Regions from separate parts of the Homo sapiens genome. Here regions 2, 3, 4 and 5 are each linked to region 1. Evidence: promoter capture Hi-C in 16 types of primary human blood cells and fetal thymus (Javierre and others, 2016). All regions are on one chromosome and are shown on one strand. Each heading gives the region's core, a stretch centred on a gene start or on the middle of the fragment in contact. The rest is flanking DNA. Distances are from core to core; before and after follow the strand shown.

Evidence for each region. The method cuts DNA at HindIII sites, captures the fragments that hold promoters and counts their contacts. A CHiCAGO score of 5 or more calls a contact.
Region 2: a contact is called between a fragment that was not itself captured here and the fragment with the promoter of DEFB118 in region 1, in 3 of 17 cell types (endothelial precursors, erythroblasts and M1 macrophages). The highest score is 5.5, in endothelial precursors.
Region 3: a fragment that was not itself captured here is called in contact with the fragment with the promoter of DEFB118 in region 1 in 4 of 17 cell types (M1 macrophages, total B cells, total CD8 T cells and 1 more); the score reaches 6.0 in M1 macrophages.
Region 4: a fragment that was not itself captured here is called in contact with the fragment with the promoter of DEFB118 in region 1 in 2 of 17 cell types (erythroblasts and endothelial precursors); the score reaches 10.1 in erythroblasts.
Region 5: a contact is called between a fragment that was not itself captured here and the fragment with the promoter of DEFB118 in region 1, in 3 of 17 cell types (naive B cells, naive CD8 T cells and total B cells). The highest score is 5.7, in naive B cells.

What each region holds. Positions count from the first base shown.
Region 1 is chr20:31,367,253-31,369,955 of GRCh38, reverse strand. DEFB118 (defensin beta 118) reads right to left here and starts at 1,355. Exons shown (of 2, transcript NM_054112.3): 1 at 1,248-1,355. The coding sequence starts at 1,305. The HindIII fragment of the contact is 1,593 bases long and covers 776-2,368 here.
Region 2 is chr20:31,249,758-31,252,460 of GRCh38, reverse strand. No RefSeq gene overlaps it. Among named protein-coding and RNA genes, the nearest start is that of DEFB115, 6.6 kb to the left of the region's middle. The HindIII fragment of the contact is 1,326 bases long and covers 646-1,971 here.
Region 3 is chr20:31,269,976-31,272,678 of GRCh38, reverse strand. No RefSeq gene overlaps it. Among named protein-coding and RNA genes, the nearest start is that of DEFB115, 14 kb to the right of the region's middle. The HindIII fragment of the contact is 351 bases long and covers 1,190-1,540 here.
Region 4 is chr20:31,447,014-31,449,716 of GRCh38, reverse strand. The region is part of intron 1 of DEFB123 (defensin beta 123); the gene reads right to left. Among named protein-coding and RNA genes, the nearest start is that of DEFB123, 7.7 kb to the right of the region's middle. The HindIII fragment of the contact is 1,907 bases long and covers 368-2,274 here.
Region 5 is chr20:31,299,046-31,301,748 of GRCh38, reverse strand. No RefSeq gene overlaps it. Among named protein-coding and RNA genes, the nearest start is that of DEFB116, 8.2 kb to the left of the region's middle. The HindIII fragment of the contact is 3,064 bases long and covers 1-2,703 here.

The DNA.
Region 1 (2,703 bases), core at 106-2,605:
ACTTACATTTAACTTGGTTATTTGCCCTCTAGGAATCTATCCTATTTAAGCCCATATCCATATATGTAAATATATTAATGTTTGTACAAGCATATTCATTGATGTCTTGTTCGAAAATTAAGAAATGTCTCAAATGGCTATATATGACTTTATATGGCTTATCCTACAGCAGAACTATACAACTTTACAAACAATAAGGCAGATCTTTAGATGGTGACATGGAAAGATGGCCACAAAATAATAAGTGAAAGAAGAGTGCTGCATAGGGCCGGGTGCGGTGGCTCATGCCTGTAATCCCAGCACTTTGGGAGACCGAGGCGGATGGATCACCCGAGGTCAAGAGTTTGAGACCAGCCTTGCCAACATGGTGAAACCCCATCTCTACTAAAAATACAAAAATTAGTCGGACATGATGGTGCATGCCTGTAATCCCAGCTGCTTGGGAGGCTGAGGCAGGAGAATTGCTTGAACCCAGGAGGCAGAGGTTGCAGTGAGCTGAGATTGCGCCACTGCACTCCAGCCTGGGTGACAGATTGAGATTCCATCTTCAAAAAAAAAAAAAAAAAAAAACACAAGAGTGCTGCATAGCCATGCAGGGAGTGTGCTTACTTCGTTATAAAACAGAAATATTTAGATTCATTTTTATGTAAGTTCGATCATACATTGAAATGCACCTTGAAAAACATAAAGGAGAAACAGGCTCTCTTCACCAGTGATTTCAAAGTTCTGGTCATGCCTTTAGATATACTTAAGAAAGCAGTGATTATGAAAAGCTTAGATTTTCACTGTAGAAGGAAGAAGAAAAGCCAGTTCTGTCTTCCGTGTAACAGCTCTACCAGTGTTTTCTGACTTGTTCACCAAATTCTAGAATATTAGAAAACAAAAAGAACCTCATTATAGCTATAGCAGGACTTTTAGGGCCAAGAAAACATAGCAAAGTGGGCTGCAGGAATCATTTTCAAAAGCTGGCACAATCTGGAAAGAGAACAGATGTGAGCCGAGCTTTCCCCTAGTTTCTTAGGCGGCAACTTGGAATATAGAACCAAGGACAACTCTGGATGGTGGGACTGCCCCTGTCTATTGAGGATAACTTGCTCTACTCCCAGGTTTTACCCCAGCCAGGAGCATAGTCCCAGTGTGGGAACTGTGGAGCTGCCCATGTTGGGGAGTACCGTGACACATTGGAATTTTCATGAGCCAGAACCCACTATACCTCTATTTTTGTATCTTCCCTGACCTCTGATTACCTGGGATCACTTGGGGTAGGAGCACAAGCATAGGAAGAGCCAGCAGCAGGAGTTTCATGGTCCTTGGGAAGCAGGAGGTGGTAGATCCAGGAGTTCAGAATACTGTGTGCAGTGTGAGTCTGAACAAGAGTTTTATTGGCCTCTCTGCAGTGGGGGCAGAGGGATGGGCACAGAACCAGCCGGATATCTAAGAGCTTATCCATGCATAACATCAGTCTAGTGTGTGGCACATAAGCTGAGCATTTGATCCAGGCACTGGGAGGGCATGCAGAGGGTTACAAGTCACAGGTTTTGAGGAGGTGTTTGGAGCAATGGAGAGGGAAGATTCACACTGGGACATCTTCCCTAGCTTTCCCCGATCTCTCATTAGGGCTCAGCCCTTCTTCACAGCCCCTCTCACTCTAGCATAAACCTACTTTTGAATGGTCTACTTATCTGTGTGTCTCCCCGCACCAGCCTGTGAAATTCCTGAGAGTAGGGAACGTGTCTTTCATTTTTGAGCCCCCAAGGCACGAAGCATGCTCTCAGTGAAGGTTTGTGGAAATAAACGATAATGAACACATGTCAATCTATAAGCCAAATCCCTCTCTTACATATGTGCCCAACAGGGAAAATGACTTGCCCAAGAAGTCACTTGCTGCAGAAGTTTGAGGGAGATCATTTATAAGACTCAAAGGGGGATGCTACCCAATGTCATTAAAAAAAAAATTCCCTAGCTGGGTGTGGTGGTGGGTGCCTGTAATCCAAGCTACTCAGGAGGCTGAGTCAGGAGAATCGCTTAAACCCAGGAGGTGGAAGTTGCAGTGAGCTGAGATCGCACCACTGCACTCCAGCCTGGGCAACAGAGTGAGACTCTGTCTCAAAAAAAAAAAAAAAAATCCCTGCTGAAGACAGATCTACAATAATTTGGGATGTTACCTTTGACAACGGCACCATGAGGGTCATCAGAGGTCTGGGAGCTGTCCATGAAGACCCCAACATTTAGACTTGCCTTTGGGATGTGGAACCTCGATGTCACCCCCAGAGTCAGCCTAGGTCCTGCATTGCTTTAGTTGCATTTTCATCGTGTTTCAACTTTTGCTCCCTCTTGTTTACTCGGCTCTAAAAGTCTCTGTAAAGCTTTTACAGAGGAGGTTGCTGATTTTTCTCTTCTGGAATTGATAACTTTCACTGTGAGAATAATTGATGGGAATTAGCAGGGTTGCCATGTGATTGAGGAGACTTCTCTTCTGGATGGAACCATGTGGAAAGCGTAGCATGGTGGTGGGCTATTTTCAAATTAATTTTGTTTTATGTTTTTATTTTTTTGAGACAGGATCTCGCTCTGTAGCCCAGGCTAGGGTGCAGTGGTGCGATCACAGCTCATTGCAGCCTCAAGCTCCTGAGCTCAAGCAATCCTCCCACCTCAGCCTCCTGAGTAGCTGGGACTGCCCAGGTATTCACCACCATGCCCGAA
Region 2 (2,703 bases), core at 59-2,558, 120 kb after region 1:
TAATGTCATGAAGTATTTCTCCAATGTTTTCTCCTACTAATTCCTTAGTTTCAAGTCTTACATTCAAGTCTTTCAATCATTTTTAGTTGATTTTTGAATATGGTGAAAGATAAGGATCTAGTTTCATTTTTGTTCATGTGGCTATCCAGTTCCCTAGTACCATTTATCGAAGAGACTGTCCTATTCCCAATGTGTGTCCTTGGAAATTTTTTTTAAAGTCAGTTGGCTATAGATGTGCAGATTTGTTTCTGGTCTTTCTATTCTGTTCCATTGGTCTATGTGTCTGATTTTATGCCAATATCAACCTATTTTGGTCACTAGATCTTTATAGTATATTTTAAAGTAAGGTAGTGTGATACCTTTAGATTTGCTGTTTTTGCTCTAGATTGCTTTGGTTATTAAAAGTCTTTTGCAGTTCAATAGAAACAAGGATTGTTTTTTCTATTTCTGTAAAGAATGTCATTAATATGTTGATGACATTCATGGTCCAGGACACATAGCCCTCCTGTGCAAATAACTCATAATCTTCCTGAGCCCAGCTATCACCAGACACTTGCAAGTTAGCTCACTGCAACTTTGGGGTTATGAGTACTGCTCGCAGCACTCTGCAGCCCAAGAACCATTCTTTAAAATCTCCAGCAAGCTTTTGTTTCCTTTCAGTCAGCTCCTCTCGTGCTGATTCTGTTCATTGCTTCTTTGCAACATATTTTCATACTTTCTCTAATAAATCTGCCTTTCTTTACCTACATCTGTCATAGTAAATTATTTTAACCCTGTGCCACTGGCCCAGATAGTTGTCACTCATCTGCGACAGTTTCCCAAAAACTTAACTACTAATAGCCTTGTGAAAGTTGTCAAAATCAAAATGGGTTAAGAAAATCCGGACAAATAGAGCCAGGGAAGGTCATGAAGAGAGGGTTCTCATATTTGTGTGCCTGATAACAAAAATCATCACAAAAGACTGCAAAAGCCACAACCTTAAACAAAGGCCACTGCAACCTTATGCAAAAAAATACTTCTAAAAGGACATCTGCCTAGCAACTACCTGTCGGACTTCAGACTGGCATCACCCTTATTATTGATCTTTGTAATCAAGGATAATTATTTCAAAATAATTATGTCATCCTCCTCATTTTTTCCTTTAAAAGCCTTTGTCATCCTTGACTTCCCTGAATATGCACATAGTTTACTGCGGCATGTGTATTTCCACTGTAATGTTTTATTCCCAAATAAATATATATATGTATTTTTAGAGAGCCACTCTCTGTTATTTAAATTGACAGCCTACTATTGACTGGAAGCCTTGTAAATAACATAAACAGTCAATTAACATATATTTTGTATCTTAAATGTATTATATACAGTATTCTTACAATGAAGTAAGCTAGACAAAATAAAATGTTATTAAGAAAATTATAAGGAAGAGAAAATATATATTTACCATTCATTAAATGGAAATGGATCATCATAAAGGTCTTCATCCTCATTGTCTTCACATTGACTAGGCTGAGGAGGAGAAAAAGGAGGGGTTAGTCTTCCTGTGGCAGGGTGGCAGAGGCAAAAAAAAAATCCACATATAAGTGGAACTGTGCAGTTCAAACCCATGCCGTTCAAGAGTCAACGTATTTGAAAAGCAGCCATGTCTTCTGATCAGCAAAAATACTCATGTATTTAACTTTAGAGTTCTTGCCTATCATTTGCATGCTGTAGAAATTGTTAGCAGAGAAATAACTTGAGATGATGGAGAGTTTTGTTCAATGCCTTACAGAAGTTTTATAAACAGTTCAAACATGATTGTCAAAAACAAGTAAATTAGGCATAAGTGTTCACAAATAAACTCCTCATAGTTTCAAAAAATGTTTTTGGTAATTTGAAATCTTAAAGCAGAATTACATAATATATACCAGTTAAATGTCTTGGTAATTGCTAAATAAGTTAAAATACTAAAACATTAATTATTAAGTATAAGCTTTAAGTTTGTATACTTTGGCATTTTGTTTCTATATGATGTAGACAAACTAAATATATTTGAATCTCTGTTAGTAAATTAAAAAAACTTCTTTGAGGAGCAAAAAACTTGTTTTTTCAAGAACAATTTTTTTCACAATGTCTAAAAATTGTGAAATATATAGTCATAAAATGTTGGTATATTACAAATAGCTCAAATAACTTACTTCCTAGTTATTCACAAAAATTTGTTTGCAAAGTAAGTTTATTCTCAAACTTGGCCTGATTATTAACATAATGAAGCAAGAATAACTACATAGGCTTCTTTTAAAGTTGTTTTGCTGGAAATTTTTACAAGGAATCTCAGATTAGATTTTTAAAAACCTCTCAATGCTAGGAAGCCAAACCAAGGCAGTCATTGAATTTTACCTGCTGTATCTAATATCTTGAGGTTCCTGGGTCTACCCAGAAGTGAAAACTTTTACTCATTCATTATAAGGTTGGGAAACCTTGAAGCCAAGAAGTCTATGCACATTTGTAAATATGACATTCCAGTCAAAGCCTTGGAAATACAATTTGTGTTTTCAGTTGTATCCTGTTATAAAGAGAACTAAGTCTTATTGAACTTATGCAAATAGCCATAAGGCCATAAGAATAAGAATACTCACAAATAGTTTCCAAATTCTGGAGGGATTACACATGGAGGAAAATCAAAAGTCTCAATTTTTGTTTACAAAAGTATATTTCACCAAATTG
Region 3 (2,703 bases), core at 116-2,615, 97 kb after region 1:
CAAGCAGAGTGTAAATGCTGGCTGGGCAGTTCCTCCTTGGGCCCCCAGGTGGGCACCCAAGTGCTGGCAATATCTCTAGTTGGGTGAGTGGACTGGTTTCATTTCCTGAGTGGAGTAGTTGGGAGCTGGTGGTTTCTGTAGTGGGTTGGGCAGGTAAGTCTCTGGGCCCTTGGGTGGTATTTATGGTGTTTCATGGCCCCACTGCTGGAGAGGAGTGAGGTTGCTGTTGGTGGCAGCAGGTCCAGGAAGGTTGCTCTCAGGCTCTGGGGAGCTCACACTTTGGTTCTCTATGTCCTTGAGCCAGTATACCGGTTGTGTTGGACCATCTGTTCCCTGGGGTGTGGGATGTTGTGTGGTCTCAGATGCTGGCAGTGTGGTTGTGCCACTGGGCTTAGCCAGCACTATGATGCTGCAGCCCTTTGAGTGGGTGTGGGTGGATATTGGTGAGGTCTCAGGGTTGTGGAGATGCAGGAGCTATTGGTCTCCATGGCGGGATATAGTCTGTTGTTGTATTTGCTCTCAAAATGGCACCATACTATAGCAGCCTGCATTCCAGGGATGGGCCCCTGTGCAAATTCTCTCCCTGGAACAAATGCAGTCACGTGGATTCCAGGCAGCTTTCCAGACTAGGCTCAGGACATGTGAGGGTCTAGGAGCTTTTCTGCAGTTAGAACTTCAGGCATTTCTGGTGGGAGTGTGGACTGATACGTATCTTTCAGTTACCTTTTTCCCAACAATGCGGAGTTCCTCCTGGCTCTGAGCTGATTCAGCTGGCTGCCTTGATTCCTTCTCTATGCTGCCATCTTGAGCTTTTGTGCCTCAGAGTCCCTGTTGCTTCTCTGCTGGATTCCAGCATTCTCTTCTAGACACTTTATTTGATATGTGGTTATCTATTATGTTGGTTCATAGGTAATTGAAGTTTTCTATCATTACCTTTAACGCCCCAAACCACATTTACTTTTGCACCAACCTAATACTGTTTAGTCCTTCTCTGTAAAAGTGGTAAGTTCTGGATGCTTCTAGTCAGCCATCATGATCTATATTTACCAGTGGGTTTTGTACTTTCAAACATTATAGTCTTACTAAGTAGCATCCTTTTATTTCATTAGAAATAATTCCCTTTAGTCTTTCTTGTAAGGCAAGCCTTGTGCTGATAAACTCCCTCAGCTTTTCTGTGTCTAGGAAAGCTTTATCTTTCCTTCATTTGTGGAGTGCAGATTTCCTGCATAAAGTATTCTTGGTTGGCAGTTTTTTTTCTTCAACACTTTGGATATATCATTGCATTCTCCTGGTCTGTAAGGTTTTTACTGAGAAATCTGTTGCTAGCCTTATTGGAACTCCATTACAAGTTATTTGCATATTTTCTCTCGCTGCTTTCAAGATGCTCCCTTTGTCTTTGATTTTTGACTGTTGAGTGTATGTCTTCATGTAGTCTTTTTGAGTTTAATCTGATTCAAAACCTTTAACCTTCTTGTATCTGTATATTTATATCTTTTTCCAGATTTGGGAAGTTTTTTACTCTTATTTCTTTAAATAAGCTTTCTACTCCTTTGGCTCTCTCTTCTTCTTCAGAAACTTATAATTTGAATATTTGTTCTTTTGGTGCTGTCTCATAAATCCTGTAATGTTTTTTCATTCTTTTTGTTTATTTTTCTCATTTGACTGTATGTTTTCAATTTTACAGATTCTTTCTTCTGTTTGATCAATTTTGCTGTTGATGCTTTTTATTGTATTTTTTATTTATTCATTGTGTATTTCAGCTCTATAATTTAAAACAATTTCAATTTCTATTAAATTTCTCATTTTGTCATTTATTGTTTTCCTGATTTTACTGAATTGCTTCTCTGTATTTTCTTGGAGTCTGCTGAGCTGCTTTATTTATTTACTTATTATTTTTATTTTTTTTTTGAGACAGTCTCACTTTATCACCCAAGCTGGAGTACAGTGGTACGATCTCAGCTCACTGCAAACTCCACCTTCCAGGTTCAAGAAATTCTCCTGCCTCAGCCTGCCAAGTAGCTGGGACTACAGGTGTCTGCCACCACACCCAGCTGAGTTTTGTATTTTTAGTAGAGACAGGGCTTCACCATGTTGGCCAGGCTGGTCTTGAACTCCTGACCTCAGGTGATCCACCCACCTCGGCCTCCCAAAGTGCTGGGATTACAGGCATGAGCTACCGCACCCAGCCTGCTTAGCTTCTTTAAAACAATTATTTTGATTTCTTTGTCACACAGTTTGTATATTTCCATTTCTTTAGGGGACCAGGTACTAGGAAATTATCATATTCTTTGTTATTATGTGTCCTTGGTTTTTAAATGTTTCTTATGTTAATATCATCATATTTGATGGAGCAATCACCTTTTTCAGACTTTACAGGTTAATTCTGGTGTGGAAAGACCTGCCTCTATGGAGGGAGGGGAGTGCAAGGGTGCTTTCTGAGTGAAGGGTAACTGTTCTGGCATCACTGAAGGTACAGTGGTATAATGTCTGTGCAGCTCTGTCAACTGATGCTGGTGTTGATTAAAATTGCAGGAATCCTTAGTGACCAATACTGTGGATGCCAGCAGTGGCAGTGAGGATTGCTGAGGTCTTTGATGGTGTTGGCTGCTAAGGTCTTCTGTATCTCTTTTTCTCCCGCTAGGGAAATTGTGGCTGCATGAATCCCTCTTGACACTGAACCTGTCTTGTGGCTTGCTTGTAGTG
Region 4 (2,703 bases), core at 72-2,571, 80 kb before region 1:
GCTCACTGCAAACCTCCTCCTCCCAGTTCAAGGGACTCTCCCACCTGAGTTTCCCCGAGGAGCTAGGACAACAGACATGTGCCACTATGCCTGGCCCACCCTGTAGTCTTTAAGTGCCTTTCTGTGCATGTGCAAGAGGAAACTACCAAAGGCCTGAGGGGGAGAAAAATACCAAACACCAAAAAGAAGTAAGCAGAACAATTCCCAGTGATTGCACAGGTCTGGGAATAGCTTGTGTTTCCACCTGCCTGAGTGGAAAGACCCTGTAAAATCTGCAGCATTTAGTACTCGGAAGGCTATTGCCTTAGTAGTGGGGGCTAAATTAACCCTAGACTAAAGAATACCCTGTACCCATCCTAACAAAGCTTAAACGTCAGTCTTGAAAATATTCATCTGATTCCCACTAACTTAGCTGCATGCAAGAAAAATATCTAACTCTTTAAAGGAGTGTAACAAAATACAGAAACTGAAAGTGTAAAAATATTTTTCAGGCATACAAAAAAAAAAAGCAGGAAAATATGACCCATAACCAGGAGAAAAACAAATCAACCAACACAGAAATGACAATGATGATGAAACTAGCAGACAAGGATGATAAAACAGCTATGATAAATATGCTCCAAGTAGTAAAAAAGGTGGAGGAAGCCATGAGCATGATGAGAAGAAATAAAGATGTAAAAAATATTCATGGCCGGGCACGATGGGTCAAGCCTATGATCCCAGCACTTTGGGAGGCCAAGGTGGGTGGATCACCTGAGGTCAGGAGTTCGAGACCAGCCTGACCAACGTGGAGAAACCCCATCTCTACTAAAAATACAAAAAAAAAAAAAAAAAAAAATTAGCTGGGCGTGGTGGCACATGCCTGTAATCCCAGCTACTCAGGAGACTGAGGCAGGAGAATCGCTTGAACCTGGGAGGTGGAGGTTGCAGTGAGCTGAGATCGTGCCATCGCACTTCAGCCTAGGCAACAAGAGCGAAACTCTGTCTCAAAGAAAAAAAAATATATATATGTATATATTCACATGGAATAGTTGAGATGAAACATTAAATATTAAATGAAAAACATACTAAGTGAGATTAATAGTAGGTTAGACTGAAGAAGAAAAGATAAATGAACTTGAAGACATAGCAACAGAAATCATCCAAAGTGAAACATGGAGAGAAAAAGATGGGGGGAAAAAAGAGCAGAGTGTCAGTGACCCATGGGACAATAACAAGTAGTCTAACATGCATATAATTGGAATACTAAAAGGAGAGGAGAGGGGAGGGGCAGGAAAAGTATTTGAAGTAATAATGGCTGAAAAATTTCAAGTTTGATGAAAACTCTAAGCCCATAGAACCATGACCCTCGGTGAACTACAAGCTGAATAAAACCAAAAGAGAAGCATGCAAAGGCACATAATAATCAAATTGCAAAATCAAGTGAAAGGAAAAAAATCTTTAAAAAGCCAGAAGAAAAGACACGTTATGTACATAGGAGAAAAGGTAAAAATACTGGAAGAGGCTGGGTGTGGTGGCTCACACTTGAAATCCCAGCACTTTGGGAGGCTGAGATGGGAGGATTGCTTGAGCCCAAGAGTTTGAGACCAGCCTAGGTGAGACCCTGTCTCTCCAAAAAAATAAAAAAATTAGGCCAGACGTGGTGGCTCACGCCTGTAATCCCAGCACTTTGGGAGGCCAAGGTGGGCGGATCATGAGGTCAGGAGATCGAGACCATCCTGGCTAACACAGTGAAACCCCGTCTCTACTAAAAACACAAAAAATTAGCTGGGCATGGTGGCAGGCGCCTGTAATCCCAGCTACTTGGTAGGCTGAGGCAGGACAATGGCGTGAACCCGGGAGGCAGAGCTTGCAGTGAGCCGAGATAGCGCCACTGCACTCCAGCCTGGGCGACAGAGCGGGACTCCGTCTCAAAAAAAAAAAAAAAAAAAAAAAAGCCGGGTGTGTTGGTGTGCACCTGTAGTCCCAGCTACTAGGGAGGCTGAGGTGGGAGGATCACTTGAGCCTGGGAGGTCGAGGCTGCAGTGAGCTGTGGTCACGCCACTGCACTCTACCCTAAGTGACAGAGTGAAACCGTCTCAAAGAAAGGAAAAAAAAAAACCAACACAGAAGACTTATTGTCAGAAACTGCACACTAGAAGATGGTAGAGAGAGATCTTTAAAGTAATAAAAGGAAAAAAGCCCAGAATTCTTTACAGAGGAAAAATATTCTAAAAGTGGAGAAATAGACTTTTTCATGTATTTGAAAACGGAGAACATTGATCACTGAAAGCTTTCACTACAAGAAATGCTAAAGGAAGTTATTCAGGCAGAAGAAAATGGTACCAGAGGGAAATCTGGATGTCTACATAAAGGAGTAAAGAGAATCAGAACTGATAACTATGGGTAAATGTAAACAACTTTTGTTCTCAATTAAACATTTATTTATTTTTATTTTTATTATTATTATTTTTTTGAGATGGAGTCTTGCTCTGTTGCCCAGGCTGGAGTGCAATGGCGCAATCTCAGCTCACCGCAACCTCCACCGCCCGGGTTCAAGCGATTCTCCTGTCTCAGCCTCCCGAGTAGCTGGAATTACAGGCATGCGCCACCACGCCTGGCTAATTCTGTATTTTTAGTAGAGACGGGGTTTCTCCATGTTGGTCAGGCTGGTCTCAAACTCCTGACCTCAGGTGATCCACCCGCCTCGGCCTCCCAAAGTGC
Region 5 (2,703 bases), core at 116-2,615, 68 kb after region 1:
CTGAGGCATGAGAATCACTTGAACCTGGGAGGTGGAGGTTGCAGTGAGCTGAGATGGTGCCACTGTACTCCAGCCTGGGTGATGGAGTGAGACTCTGTCTCAAAAAAAAGAAAAAAAAAGAAAAAAAATTTAAAATTTGGAAGAAAGTATTGGCCTTGGATTCAGTAGCATAGTTGAGATATAATGTTTCCAGACTTTCTACTTTGGAAGTATTTGGAGAAGAAAAATTGTTGTGAATTTCAGGTTTAAGGTATAGATTGCTATTTCCCTGCCTCCACGTGTATTGAGAAAGAAACACGAATATGAAGTCAGCAGGATTTTTCTCTTGTTCTGTGACTTACATATCGAATTACATATTTGTTCTAATCTCTTGGATTACTCAGCCATTTCAGGCTCAAGATGTCCCAAAAATTAACTCCAAATCTGTTTACCCAGCTTTTCTGTCATCTTCCTATCCTCAGTAATTAGCACCCACAACTTTTCTTTCTGAAAAGCAGTTCTTATAAATGGCAAACACTTATTTAAAACTTTTGAGTCTGGTCATTCTTGTGGAACAATTTGGCATTGTTTGTAAGATCCTAGGAAGAATGGAGGTGGAATATAGGATGTGGGCTGAATTCACACATGACTGTACTTTCAGATTTTTCTCCATATCTGCTGCCCAAAGATACCATTGCTCCCAACTTGAGCTCAGAAATGCTTTGTATTTTCCAGTAGAGACTATCGGATGAGTCTGACCATATTTTTTGCTTGTCTGTTAACCCTTACCATGTGTACCTGAGAAAAATCAGATTACTCTTTTAGGTTAGACCCCACAGAGTGGGGTCCTCAGTTGAATGACCAAGAAGAAATTCCATTTCTGTTTAGCTTATATTAAACTACTGTGGTATTACTCGATATAATTTGGAATTGGTGACCAGAAATTACCCCCCCAACTAGTGGGCTTTTTTCCTGCTTTGTCCTGAGGACAGGATGTCCCAAAATATCTAAGAGAAAAATCTGGAAATTTCCCATTTTGGCCAGAAAGCAGTCATAGTATTTGTGGAAAGAAGAGGCTTACAAAAGAAATCAAAATTCTAACTTCTCATTCACAGAAAGACCTATAAGAGACTAAAAAGCATCATCAATGAAACTCAAAGGCAAAAATAAATAAATAAATAACCCTCAGAAGCCCTTTCAGATTCATGTAAAAAACCCACTGGCAAAAAGACAAAAAAAAATTAGAAAAACAGTTGTATTTATTTTCAAACTTAAAAAGCAACCAAATACCAGAGTTTCTATGTGCCTCTAGATTTTCTACAGAGATTCCTGAAACTCTATTAAATTGCCTCCATATAAGATTAAGCCCTCAAATCATTTGCACTAAAATTTCTTGTGTTTGGAAGAATATGCCCTAGAAAAAAATGATAAAGAGAAACTATTCCATTTAGATTAAATACACTAAAGACCTTTCACCAGGTTTACTCTGTTTTATGGAAATTAATTTTCCTGCTGTACAAACATAATAGATAAAAATAGAGAACTGTCTCCTCAGAGTATGTTTTAAATTACCAAGGCCAAGGGGGTAGATACATTTATTGTATTTTAATTTAATTTAATTACTTATTTTATTTTTATTTCCATCTTTCCTTTTATTCTTCTGTGCTGTTGCTCTTCCAGATTCCTGGATTACAGCAGTCCTCACTGATTTTACTCTTCTTTACATTGTTAAAGTCTTTATGATTGTATTTTATTTTATTTATTTTTAAAAGTTGTTTATTATTTATACTGTTTTTAAAATAAATTTTTGTGGGTACATAGTAGGTGTATATATTTATGGGATACATGAGATGTTTTGATACAGGCATGCAATGTGTAATTATCATATCATGGAGATTGGGGTATCCATCCCCTCAGGCATTTACAATCCAATTACATTCTTTTAGTTGTTTTAAAACGTACAGTTAGGTTATTATTAACTATAGTTACTCTGTTGTGCTATCAAATAGTAGGTTTTATTAATTCTTTTTTTTTTTGTACCCATTAACCATTCCCACTTACCCCTACATCCCCACTGCCCTTCCCAGCCTCTGGTAACCATCATTTTACTCTCTATGTCCAGAAATTCAATTGTTTTGAGTTTTAGATACCACAAATCAGTGAGAACATGTGATATTTGTCTTTCTGTGCTGGCTTATTTCACTTAACATAATGAATTCCAGTTCCATCCACATTGTTGCAAATGACAGCATCTTATTCTTTTTAATGACTGAATAGTATTCCTTTGAGTATATGTACCATATTTTCCTTATCCATTCATCTGTTGATGGATACTTAGGTTGCTTTCAAATCTTAGCTGTTGTGAACAGTGCTGCAACAAACATGGTAGTGCAGATACCTCTTCAATGTACTGATTTCCTTTCTTTTGGGGATGTACCCAGCAGTGGGATTGCTGGATCCTATAATACCTCTATTTTTAGTGTTTTGAGGAGCCTCCAAACTGTTCTCCACAGTGGTCATACTAACTTAAATTCCCACCAACAGTGTATGAGGGCTCCTTTTTCTCTACACCTTTGTCAGCATTCATTATTGCCTGTCTTTTAGATAAAAGCCATTTTAACTGGGGTGACATGATATCTCGTTGTAGTTTTGATTTGTATTTCTCTGATGATCAATGATGTTGAGCACCTTTTCACATGCCTGTTTGTCTTTTATATATCTTCT